2 separate regions of the Homo sapiens genome follow, and region 2 is linked to region 1. The links are contacts of gene promoters, found by promoter capture Hi-C in human tissues and cell types (Jung and others, 2019). All regions are on one chromosome and are shown on one strand. Each heading gives the region's core, a stretch centred on a gene start or on the middle of the fragment in contact. The rest is flanking DNA. Distances are from core to core; before and after follow the strand shown. Region 1 holds the start of IFT88 (intraflagellar transport 88). Region 2 overlaps LOC105370105 (a long non-coding RNA gene).

Region 1 (6,534 bases), core at 2,752-5,251:
ATATGTAGAGACAGGGTCTTGCTATGCTGCCCAGGCTGGTCTTGGACTCCTGGCCTCAAGCAATCCTCCCACCTTGGCACCGAAGTGCAGGTACAGATGTGAGCCACCATACCAGGCCTGAGGATCTTTTCTCTGAGCTTTATTAATACAATTGTATATACTCAGCAGCTGCCTAGTCAACATCTCTATTTGCATATTTTACAGGCATCTGAAACTCAACATATTCAAAACTAAACTCATTTTCTCTCTCAAACTTGCATCTCCTCCAGTATTCTCCATGGTAATACATGGTGCTAGCATTCATCCCATTACTCATGCCAAACTTGGGATTCATGCTTGCTGCTTACTACCCATTCACCCCCAACTCTCTATATAATTAATTACAAGTCCTGACAATTCATTCGATTAACAATTATTGAGAGTCAACTAGTTCCAGGCACTTTTCTAAGTACTGGAGATACAGTCTAGAACAAAAAAGACAAAAACGCCCATTCTCTGTGGAGCTTGAATTTCAGTAATATAAGCTAGGTGACCCTAACATTTTGCCTGGCAATAATAGGTGTGTTCATTAAATGCTAGCTACATAATGATGTTTAAAATGAAGGTGAATGAGCACTCCCTGGGCAAGTAACTGTATCACACCCAAAGAGCAACCAAGTTGAGGCCGGGTGCGGTGGCTCACGCCTGTAACCTCAGCACTTTGGGAGGCAGAGGCGGGCAGATCACAAGAGGTCAGGAGTTCGAGACCAGCCTGGCCAACATGGTGAAACCCCATTTCTACTAAAAATACAAACAATAGCTGGGTGTGCTGGCTTATGCCTGTAGTCCCAGCTACTCAGGAGGCTGAGGCAGGAGAATCATTTGTACCCGGGAGGCAGAGGTTGCAGTGAGCTGAGATGGTGCCAGTGCACTCCAGCCTGGGTTACAGAGTGAGACTCTGTCTCAAAAAAAAAAAAAAAAAAGTAACCAAGTTGAAGTAACTTGAATTTGTTTCTAATTAAAAAGATTTTTTTGAGGAGACTGAAAATTTACAGTTTGGAGATCCAGAGATAATGGAAATTGTGTCTATAGAGGGACAGTAACTTGAAATAAGGCTCCCCGGTATTCACTAATTAATTCAACAAATATTTCTTGGAACAACTGCTATGAGCTGGGTATAGTATGGCTAGATACTATTCAGAATCATGTTAGATTTTACCCTACTTGCAAGCTAACAAGCTCATCTAACAGCTCCACAAATGATGGCAGAAAACACCTGAGTCAGAGAGAAAGGGCTTTATTTTTCACAGCACAGCCAGTAGCCTGGGCTTCATATTCCCTTCGGTTCCCCTTTCCCTTCCAAGTCCCATGGGGACAGTCCAGGTGGATGCTGCACATGTGATTGGTTTTACCGCCCAGGTACACCAAGTTTAGGAAAGCCCAGTCTTGAACAGTGAACTGCAAGCCAACATGCTCAGCCTTTGCCCCAGAAGGTGACACTCTCTTTATTAAACTGAACAGCAACAAACCTGTCTTTTGTTCCAGAAGCAGACAATTATCTTAATCTTCCAAAGCTGTTCCTTGAAAGGGTATATTAATCAGAATTCCCTACAGAAACAGATCCAATAGGATGCATATTGCAGAGAGAGATTTATTTGAAGGAATTGGCTCAATCAATTGGAGGCTGGTGTTAGATATGAGTTCTAAATTTCTCTTCGAAGAATCAATGTCAGTATGTTCAATTCTTTGTCTTCTACTTTTAAACTTAACTTCTGGCCAGATGCGGTGGCTCACACCTGTAATCCCAGGAGGCCGAGGCGGGAAGATCATGAAGTCAGGAGATGGAGGCCATCCTAACACGGTGAAATCCATCTCTACTAAAAATACAAAAAATAAGCCGGGTGTGGTGGCGGGCACCTGTAGTCCCAGCTACTCGGGAGGCTTAGGCAGGAGAATGGAGCAAACCCAGGAGGCAGAGCTTGCAGTGAGCCGAGATGCCGCCACTGCACTCCAGTCTAGGCTATAGAGCGAGACTCTGTCTCAATTAAAAAAAACAAAACAAAACAAAAAAAGCTTAACTTCCTCGTAAAGCAATCTTTTTCAACTACCTGCTCCACCCTGACTCATTCTGATTACCTGCTCTGCCCTGACTCATTCTCCACCCTGACTCATTCCGATTTCCTGCTCTGCCATAACTATTTTTCCCACCAAACCACTTACCCGGTCACTCTCTTTAAATTAGTCAATCAGAATTAGTTTAGCCTGTGCCGTCTAACCTTAGCCAACAGGGGAAGGACACAGCAGCAGGTGCCACAAGCGTCAGGAATAAAAACCCCTTCGCCTCCCTTGTCCAGGTGTGTGCTCACCATTGCTCCATCTGTGAGGGCGCACCCTTCTATAGAAGTAAATTGCCTTGCTGAGAAGGAAAAAAGAAAATTTTATAGTTGAGTGCTATTTCTTTTGCGGCACCAAAACTTTATTTATAATGCTGGCAAGCCTAAAATTTGTAGGTCAAGTTAGAGACCCAGGAAAGAGCTGAAGGCAGTCTGGGGGCAGGATTCCTTCTTCCTCAGAGGACCTTAGTCTTTTCTCTTATGACCTTCCCTTGACGGGATGAGGCCAACCCACCTTGTGGAGGACCAACTGCTTTACTCAAGTCTAATTTAACTGTTAATCACATCTTAAAAAATACCAGCTATCATAGTACTCCAGAACAAAGGCAGTCAGTGTCTCTGCTCACAAAACACGGGAAAGTGCAGGTGACCCATGGAGAATTGTCCCCCAACACTATGTTTTTTCTTTTTTTGGATGGAGTTTCGCTCTTGTCACCCAGGCTGGAGTGCAATACCACCATCTTGGCTCACTGCAACCTCTACCTCCTGGGTTCAAGAGATTCTCCTGCCTTAGCCTCCTGAGTAGCTGGGATTTATTACAGGCGCCTGCCACCTCGCCGGGCTAATTTTTGTATTTTTAGTAGAGACAGGGTTTCACCACGTTGGCCAGGCTGGTCTCCAACTCCTCACCTCAGGTGATCCGCCAGCCTCAGCCTCCCAAAGTGCTGGGATTATAGGCATGAGCCACTGCGCCCGGCCAACACTACTTATTTTATAAAAACTCATTAATTACTGGTGTCTTTAGACTCCCTCTGTCCCTCCCCTCCATCCCCAACATTTACTTTTAAAATTTAAGACAAAACTTAAACATTAAACAATTATGAATTTAATTCCCCCATTTATATTACATTGATTAAGCTTTACACTATGACCCAGGTTCTAGGTGGTTGGGACACAATGGTTCAATCCCTGTCTAGTAAATAAAACGGACACCTTAAGCGCTACAATCAAGGTGCGCACGGGGTGCTACAGAACAATACGCAGACAGGAGGAGGTGGGGGGAAAGGTGAGACTTCCCAGGCAGGTGTCATCCCAGAATAACTTTTACACAGGGTGACTAAGCGAGTTAGTGACTGCGCGGAAAACGGGCTTCCAAGGTTCACAAGGCTCGTGCTGCGGCTCCGGGAGTTATGTCACAGTAAGCTTACTATCATCCTTTGGGCATCTGCTTTACGGATGAGTTCATCAGGATTTAAAGGATCTTGGTTCCATATCCTTCCCCTTCCTCACAGAGGCCGCCAGCCCGGAGCCCCTCTAGGCCCTCCTCCCTCCTGCATCTACTGGCCGCGAGCCTTTCCCTCCCCGCCCCCTTCACACAGGCCGCCCCCAGCCTCCCAACCCCCCGGTTCCGTTCCACGGGAGGCCCCGGCCTCCCTGCCCTCTCCTCCACCGTTCTACCCGCATCGCCCGGCTTCCCGCAAGCCGCTGGCACCGTCCCCTCAACACCCTCCGCCCACCGCCACTCCCTTCCACTGAGGGGGACCGGGCTGCCTTCTCTCTGACCCGCCGTTCTCCGCCCCCACCCACTTCCCCAGGCCTCCCGCACCACCCCCTTCCCGCCGCGCTCTCTCCCGCCCCCGCGCTTCCGGCCCCGCCCGCCCCCGCGCGGAGGACTGTGGGAGCGGCTTCCTTGGATTCCGCGCTTGGCAACGGCTCGGCGTCGCGCTTTGGCCAACCGCTGCGTCGTCCCTGGGCCCGAATAACTGTCGCCCGCTTCCCTCAGCGTGAGGTAGGAGAAGGGCGCTGGGGCCTAGTGCCTCAGGGCCCCTGGCAGCCGTGCCCCTGCGGCGTCCTGTGTGGCGCATCCCGCCGAGGGCCTCTTCGCCCGTCTCCTGCCCGCCCCTGTCGGCCCCGGGGCGGTCTGAGGCGGGGCCCCAGATGGACTCGGCCTGCCCCTGCTTTTCTTCCTCAGGCTCCCGAGTTGTCTACTCAGAAACGCGGGCGTTGTTTCTCACATCGGTGTCCCCAGCTCACAGGCTTTTCTTGCTCCTCTGAACTGGGACGGGCGTCGCTGACCGCTTGGCGATGTCCCAAGTCCCAGTCACGCCTGACGGGGAAACTTAAAACCCAGTTAGATTACTGCGCCAGCTCTGGAATCGCACAGCAGAGATGGTGCACATCGCTCTTTAATTTTCTTGTTAGGTGAAGCACTTCAAATTGCCTGATGAAAGTTGAATCAGGAATGAAGATAAAAGTACACAACAATGCAGAAAGCGGTACTTAGCCTCACAAAGATGGAAACATTCCAAAAACGTGAAGTACTGTTGTCCCAAGATTCTTTCTAAGCCTAAAATTACACTTTTACTAGTCCGATTTTCTGGTTGTGAGTTTTTTTTGTTTGTTTTTTTTTTTTCGAGAAACTGCAGTAGGCTTCTTGGAAGTAGACCAAGGGTGTCCAATCTTTGGCTTCCCTGGGCCACATCGGAAGAAGAATTGTCTTGGGCCACACATGAAATTCACAAACACTAAGGTAGCCGATGAGCTTTAAAAAAAATCGCAAAAAAGAATCTCATAATGCTTCCAGAAAGTTTACGAATTTGTGTTGGGCCACATTCAAAGCCGTCCTGTGCCACGTGCGGGCCGGGGTTGGAAAAGCTTGAAGTAGACTGTCCATAGTCAGTAGAAGAGTATTAAAAAACATACCTTTCACTTAAAAAAAAAAAAGGTTTTGCCAGCATTTGATTTATATTAAACATAGGTGGCATCATCCCCAGATTATTTCAACATGGAAAAGTTTGTTACATGTATAAGCTGCTTTGGAAATTGCCTGGAGAATCCAGAAACCCTGGGTTGTATAACAACAGTTGTTCTGCCACCCATAGCTATTAGCCATGCTTGATTCCCTTCAACTTTCCTGGCCTCACTTTCCACATCTTTTAATATTTGTATGTTCCACAAGATGTCTATTCAACTAAAGTCTCAAGTCAAACCTTTTAAAAATCTGGTTACAACCTAGCAGAAAGGATTTCTCATTCTAAAAGTTGCTTCCTTCTATAACTTATGTGTCAACTAAGCTGACTTAAATAGGGTTCATAATCAGAAATTATGGTTCAGAATAGTGGTTCTCAAAGTGGTCCCCAGACCAGTAGCCTCAGCATCACTTGGGTTTAAGAACCACTGGTTTAGTATTATCTGAGCTAAAGCTTTTAATTAAAAATATTTTATATATCTTTTACCAGTGACTTTTAATACCTTTTTTTTTCTTTTTGAGACGGAGTCGCACGCTCTGTTGCCCAGGCTGGAGTGCAGTGGCGGCAATCTCGGTTTACTGCAAGCTCCGCCTCCCGGGTTCATGCCATTCTCCTGCCTCAGCCTCCCGAGTAGCTGGGACTACAGGCGCCCGCCACCATGCCCAGCTAATTTTTTGTATTTTTAGTAGAGACGGGGTTTCACCGTGTTAGCCAGGATGGTCTCGATCTCCTGACCTCGTGATCCGCCCGCCTCGGCCTCCCAGAGTGTTGGGATTACAAGCGTGAGCCACGACGCCTGGCCCTTTTAATAACCTTTTGAAGCTATTTTGGAATGCCATTTCTATGTGGGTGACATTTGCCCTCATAGTAGTTAATTTTCATCTTCAAAAAGTAATGAGAAATTAACTCAAAATGGATCAATGACCTAAATATAAGAGCTAAAACTGTTAGAAAAAAAGCATAGGTATAAATATTCTTGACCTTAGATTAGGCAGTTCTTTCTTAGATATGATACCAAAAGTACGTGCAACCAAAGGAAAAATAAATTGTATATCATCAAAATTTAAAACTTTTGGCCAGGCGTGGTGGCTCACGCCTGTAATCCCAGCACTTTGGGAGGCCGAGCCGGGCGGATCACGAGGTCAGGAGATCGAGACCATCCTGGCTAACACGGTGAAACCCCGTCTCTACTAAAAATACAAAAAATTAGCCGGGCGTGGTGGCGGGCGCCTGTAGTCCCAGCTGCTGGAGAGGCTGAGGCAGGAGAATGGCGTGAACTCGGGAGGCGGAGCTTTCAGTGAGCCGAGATCGCGCCACTGCACTCCAGCCTGGGTGACAGAGCGAGACTCCGTCCCAAAAAAAAAAAAAATTTTTTTAAACTTTTGTGCTTCAGAGGATAGTACAAAGAATGTAAAATGATGTACAGAATGGGAGAAAGTATTTGTAAATCATTTATATAATGTTTAGTATCA
Region 2 (6,534 bases), core at 2,062-4,561, 720 kb after region 1:
TTAAAAAATGAAACAAAACAAAAGCAATAAACAGGGGAGAAGGGAAAATATTCTTTTGGTGCTCAAATACTCCCAGACTCAGCCAGTGGTCACCATTTCAAGCTGATTTCATGTCTTTTGGACATCAATTCATTGCCATCGTTTAAATATTTCTTTATTTTATGGCACACAATGTTCCAAGCTTATCATCTATTTCTCGGCCCCAGATCTGAAATCAGCTATTTTCCTAGAAGACTAGATTTCTTCTGGGGGAGAATGGTATTTAGAAACCAAATTCTGGCCACTAGTTGAGGTAGGTGTGGATATTTGCATTGGGATTGTCATTGCTCAGAGACCTACTCCATGAACAAAGCAGAGAAATATATGGATATACATAAATACGCAGGCATACATGCTTACATTAATCCACATTTCAGTGTCAAAATATATTCAAAACCATGAGTTTTTGCTGATACTTTCTATTTCAATTCAATCCCACATGGTTCATTCTAATTTTTTTTAAGTACAGTTGACCCTTGGACAATCTGGGGAGTAGGGACATCATAGAAATTCACATATAACTTTTGACTGCCCAAAACTTAACTACTAATAGCTTACTATGGATGAGAAGCCTTACCCATAACATAAACAGTCAATGAACACATATTTTGTATGTTTTATGTATTATATACCATATTTGTACAAAAGTAAGCTAGAGAAAAGGAAATGTTAAGAAAATTATAAGGAAGATAAAGTATATTTACAGTACTGTACTGAATTTATCAATACCATAAGTTTACTTCATGTGTTTCTGAGATGAATCATCTTTCTAAAAATGCAGACAAAGCTACAGACCTCAAACCGTGGTACATATCAAGCAAATCAGCTTTTTCTTATATTGTTATGTTATTTCTCTGCTTCTTGGAAGCACTTTATGCATCACTAGTGGTACTTTCTTTGGGTTCTATGATTTACACTATTAAATTAAACATGATGAAAAAAACAAGAAGTCCTAGCTAGAGCATTGAGACAAGAGAAAGAAACAAAGGGGATCTATTTGGAAAGGAAAAAGTAAAATTACCCTTGTTTGAAGATGATATAATCTTATATTTGGGAAACCTAAAGACTCTCCCTAAGAACTGATAAACAAATTCAGTAAAGTTGCAGGATAAAAAATAAACATACAAAATCAGTAGCCCTTGTATATACCAACATTGAACAATCTGAAAAAGAAATCAGAAACTAATGCCATTTACAATAGCTCAAACAAAATAAGATATGTAGGAATACACTTCACCTAAGAAGTGAAAGACCTCTACAGTAAGAACTATAAAACATTGATTCAAGAAATGGAAGAGGAGACAAAATTGAAAAAAATATTCCATTTTCATGGATTGGAAGAATCCATATCGTTAAAATGTCCATCCTATGCAAAGCAATCTACAGAATCAATGAAGTCCCTATCAACATACCAGTGATATTCTTCACAGAAATAGAAACAATAATCCTAAAACTTTCTGATGGAATCAGAAAACACCCAGAATAGCCAAAGCCATTCTGAGCAGAATAAAACTGAAGGAATTACATAACCTGACTTAAAATTATACTACAGAGCTATGGTAACCAAAGCAGCATGGTAACTGGCATAAAAAAAAGACACATGGACCAGTGCAACAGAATAGAGAGGACAGAAATAAATGCATACCTCTACAGGGAACTCACTTCAACAAAAATACCAAGAACATGCATTGGTGAAAAGACAGTGTCTTCAATTAATGGTGCTGTGAAAATTGGATATCCATATTTAGAAGAATGAAACTAGACCCCTGTCTCTCATCACACACAAAAAATCAAATGCATTAAAGACCTAAATCTAAGATGTCAAACTATGAATCTACTGAAAGAGAACATTTGGGAAACTTCAGAACATTGGTCTGGGCAAAGATTTATTGAGTAATACCCCTGAAGCACAAACCAGAGCAAAAATAGACAAATAGAATCATGTCAAACTCCAAAGCTTCTACACAGCAAAGGAGACAATCAACAAAGTGAGGAGATAACCCACAGAATGGGAGAAAATATTTGCAAACTATCCATCTGACAAGAGATTAATAACCAGAATATATAAGGAGATCAAACCACTCAATAGGAAAAAAAATCTAATAATCTGATTTTAAAATGGGCAAAATATCTCAATAGACATTTCTCAAAAGAAGAAATGGCAAACAGGCACACAGTGGCACACAAATGGCAAATAGGTATATAGAAAGGTGCTCAACATCATTGATCATGAAGGAAATGCAAATCAAAACTACAATGAGATAACATCTCACCCCACTAGAAAGCGCTTTGATACAAAAGACAAGCAACAACAAATGCTGGCAAGGATATAGAGAAAAGGGAACCCTCATACACTGTTGTTGGGAATGTAAATAAGTACAACCACTATGGAGAACAGCATGGAGCTTCCTCAGAAAACTAAAAAAGAACTGCCGTATGATCCAGCAATCCCCCTTTAACAGTCTTTGCTCCTGTACCCCATCAGGAGAGGCAGATGCTATAGCCAAGTATCATGAAGAGGTGGCTGAGCAGTTTGAGAAAAGCAGCATATTTCTCTATATCCTGTCAGTTCCAGCTGCTATTATGCACAATTATATGATGGATCTAGTGTGGAAAGATGTTAAAGAGAGCATTTGGGTATTTATCCAAAGGAATGGAAATCAGTATGTCCAAGAGAGATTGGTACTTCCAAGTTTACTGCGGCACTATTCACAATAACCAATATTTGGAAGCAAGCTATGTGACCATCAACAGGCAAACAGATAAAGAAGATGTGAGATATACACACACACATATATATACACACACACACCCCCACAATGGAGCACTATTCAACCATAGAAAAGAATGAGATACTGTCATTTGCAACAACATTGAAGGAACTAGAGGTCATTATGTCAAGGGAAATAAGCCAGGCACAGAAAGACTTCTCATTCATTTGTGGGAGCTAAAAATTAAAACAATGAAACTCATGAACATAGAGAATTGAATGAAGGTTACCAGAGGTTGGGAAGGGTAATGGGGGTTGGGGATAAGTGAGGATGGTTAATGGGTAAAAAATATATCGTTAGATAAAATGAATAAGATCTACTACTTGATAGCAGAACAGTGTGACTACAGTCAACAATATTTTATTGTACATTTAAAAATAAAACAGTGTAATCGGAATGTTTGTAACTCAAAGAAATGATAAATGTTTGAGGTGATGAATACCCATTTACCCTGATATAATTATTATGCATTGATTGTATGCCTCTGTCAAAATATCTCATGTATTTTATAAATATATACCTACTATGCCTCATACAAATAATTTTAAAAAGAAAACTACATGAGTACCACAAGAGGTCACTTTCACTATGAAACATGATTTGCTGGCAAGACGAACTGCATCTGTGGAGATGATGAGCATCATTTGGCGTTTTAAGTGGATACCTGCAACACTTGAGTTCACTGCAATAGCAACAGGAGGTGGCTATGAGATCATTACAATAGTGCAGTATGTACTAGATCTAATTGTATGCAGTTATGATTTATTTATTTTTTATTTTTAAAAGATATATACTTCATTTTTTAGAGCCTTTATAGATTCCGAGAACAGAAATCTCGAAGGCTGTAGTGTCCTTCTCCAGAAGAATGTGCATGGCAGCCTTTAACAGTCCTTGCTCCTATATCCTGTCAGGAGAGGCAGAAGCTACAGCCAAGTGTCATGAAAGGTGGCTCAGCAGTTTGAGAAAAGCAGGATATTTTCATATATTCTGTCAGTTCCAGCTGCTAATCACAATTATATGATGGATCCAGTGTGCAAAGACATTAAAGAGAGCATTGGGAATTTGGGGAGGATGGAGCCAGAAATGGAGCTGATTTCAATAACAACAGGAAAAACAGCTTGTGAAGATTTGACTACTGGCAAATATTGATACAGGAACATTCCAGAGCCAGTTGGTTTCATCCAGGCTCTCACAACCGCAGCCAAAGGAAGGGAAAATGTCATATTTGTTGAAATAGTCTCTAAGAGAGCCCTCCAGAGAAACATGAGAGAAGTCATAGGTAAAGAAACTTAATTTTCTCTTCTCTACAACCAAATAAAGAGTACGAGACTCTTTTTGACCTGGTACAAACTCTATTTGAATCTGGACACAACCTTAACTGGCCATGCTTTTATGAAGGTTTGAAAATAACTCCAACAGTTTACCTAAGGTATCAGTTTGATCACAAGAGTCTTCTGCTGCAGAACAAAATAGCTTACTCCAGTCATCCTCTCACTAGTATTGCAAGTGACAACATAGATTTCAGTTGCTTCAGAACTCGGGATACAGCACCCCATGTTTTTGAGCACAAAACAATGGAACTACTTAGGTTCCTTGTTCCTGTTTTGTGGAGCCTGGTTTGGCTTGTGTGATGGACAGTTTAAAACCCAGAGCACCTCTGAGTACATATCAGGTAAGAGTTGCTTTTTTAGCTCCCCGTGTGGTAAGCCAAAAATTTTTAGATATAAAGATGCAGTTGGAATCAGGAGAAAGAGGGAAATCAGGAGAAATAGGGAAATCACGGCTGCGTGTGGTTTTCGTTTTGGGGGCTCATGAAGCGGCCTGGGCCCTGTGACTCCTCCAGGGATTCCACATCCCAGGTGCTGCGGGACCTGCGGGGGCGAGAAAGCTGGGCCGGTGACAGGAGGGCGCAACCCACCCCATCCCCCAGGGAAAGGGCTTCTCCCAGTTCCCCACCCTCCCAGCCCCCGCCCGGCCCATTACCTCTTCTTCTTGTCTCTCTTGTCCAAGCCAGGGTCCCTGAGCATGAGAATGAGCTCCACTCTGGGGACTATGCCCCTCCAGGCAGCTCTGTGGAGATCGCCAAGATCTTCCAGGCAGACGTCGTACCCAGGCTCCAGGAAGGCGCTGTCATTGTGCTCGGCTCCACAGCCCACGCCGTCCTCGCTGCTCCTCCTTATTCAATTATTAAAACTAGTGAATAAATTCAGCAAAGTTACAGCACAAAATGTCAACACATGGTAATCTGTTGTATTTCTAGACACTAGCAACAAACATCAGAATGTAATGATGAAAACGATTCCAGGCTGGAGGTGGTGGCTCATGCCTGTAATCCCAGCACTTTGAGAGGCTGAGGTTGGAGGCTTGCTTGAACCCAGGAGTTTGAGGCCAGTCTGGGCAACTCAAGGAAACCTGTCTCTACAAATAATTTAAAAATTAGCTGAGTGTGGTGGGTCATGTCTGTAGTCCTAGTTACTCGGGAGACAGAAGAGGGAGGATTGCTGGAACCTGGGAGGTTGAGGCTGCAGTAAGCCGTGTTCACACCACTGCACTCCAACCTGGGCAACAGAGTGAATCCCTGCCTCAAAAAAAAAAAAAAAAAAGACAGAAAAGAAAAAAAATCCATTTTTAAAAATCAACAGGCCAGACGTGGTGGCACACACCCATCATCTCAATGCTCTGGGAGGCCAAGAGGGGAGTATCACTTGAGGCCAGGAGTTCAAGCCAGCCTGGGCAAGATAGCAAGACTCCACCTCTACAAAAAAATAAAAAAATTAGGCAGGTGTGGTGGTGCATACCTGTAGTCCCAGCTACTTGGTAGGCTGAGGCAGGAGGATCACTTGAGCCCAGGAGATAGAGGCTGCAGTGAGCCATAATCGTGCCACTGTACTCCAGCCTGGGAGACAGAGTGAGTCTCCCTGCCAAAAAAAAAAGATCATAGAAGTATGGGTTTATTTCTGGACTCAACATTCAGTTCCATTGATCTATACATGTGTCCTTATGCCAGCATCATGCTGTTTTTATTGCTGTTGCTTTGTAGTAAGATTTGAAATTTGGAAATGTGAGCCTCTGAGTTGGTCATTTTTTTGACATTATTTTGGCTATTCTGGATCCCTTGAAATTTCATGTAAATGTTAGGATCAGCTTGTGGATTTCTGCCAAAAGGACTTTGGGATTTTAACAGGAATTGCAATAAATTTGTAGATTGCTTTGTGTAGTACTGCCATCTTAAAAATTAGTGTCTTCTAGTTTATGAACATGAAGTGTCTTTCCATTTATTTATGCTTTCTTGAATTTATTTCAGCAATGTTTTGACATTTTCCATGTTCAAGTCTGGTACCTTGGTTAAATTTATTCCTAAGAATATTAGTACTGCTGATTGGTTTTTGAGAGAGCCTCACACTGTTGCCCAGGCTGGAATGCAGTGCCACGATCCTAGCTCTGCAGCCTCAATCTCCTGGGCTCAAAAGATGCACCCACCTCAGCCTCCAGAGTAACTGGAACTACACATGCGTGCCACCACAACCAGCTAATTGTTAAAAATATTTTTGTAGGGACAGTGTCTGGCTATGTTGCCCAGCTTTCATTATACAATGTTTAAAAATTCTAAAATTTTTGCCATGAATTACTGTGATAGTTAAGTCTAGGTGTCAACATGACTGGATTAAGGGATACACAGAGAGCTGCTAAAGCACTATGTCTAGGTATGTCTGTGAGGGTGTTT

The links. The method cuts DNA at HindIII sites, captures the fragments that hold promoters and counts their contacts. A contact is called where the count stands out against the background at its distance.
Region 2: a fragment that was not itself captured here is called in contact with the fragment with the promoter of IFT88 in region 1 in 1 of the 25 tissues and cell types used here (dorsolateral prefrontal cortex).

The regions. Positions count from the first base shown.
Region 1 is chr13:20,563,156-20,569,689 of GRCh38, forward strand. It overlaps IFT88 (intraflagellar transport 88), which reads left to right and starts at 4,002. Exons shown (of 26, transcript NM_006531.5): 1 at 4,002-4,101. LOC105370103 (a long non-coding RNA gene) reads right to left here and starts at 3,874. Exons shown (of 6, transcript XR_941725.3): 1 at 3,521-3,874; 2 at 2,346-2,395. RefSeq lists silencers at 3,702-4,111, 4,207-4,395. The HindIII fragment of the contact is 1,600 bases long and covers 2,642-4,241 here.
Region 2 is chr13:21,282,842-21,289,375 of GRCh38, forward strand. The region is part of intron 3 of LOC105370105 (a long non-coding RNA gene); the gene reads left to right. It overlaps LOC101928764 (coiled-coil domain-containing protein 144B), which reads right to left. Exons shown (of 6, transcript NR_172129.1): 5 at 4,794-4,985; 6 at 646-4,681. Among named protein-coding and RNA genes, the nearest start is that of LINC01046, 52 kb to the left of the region's middle. The HindIII fragment of the contact is 4,447 bases long and covers 1,089-5,535 here.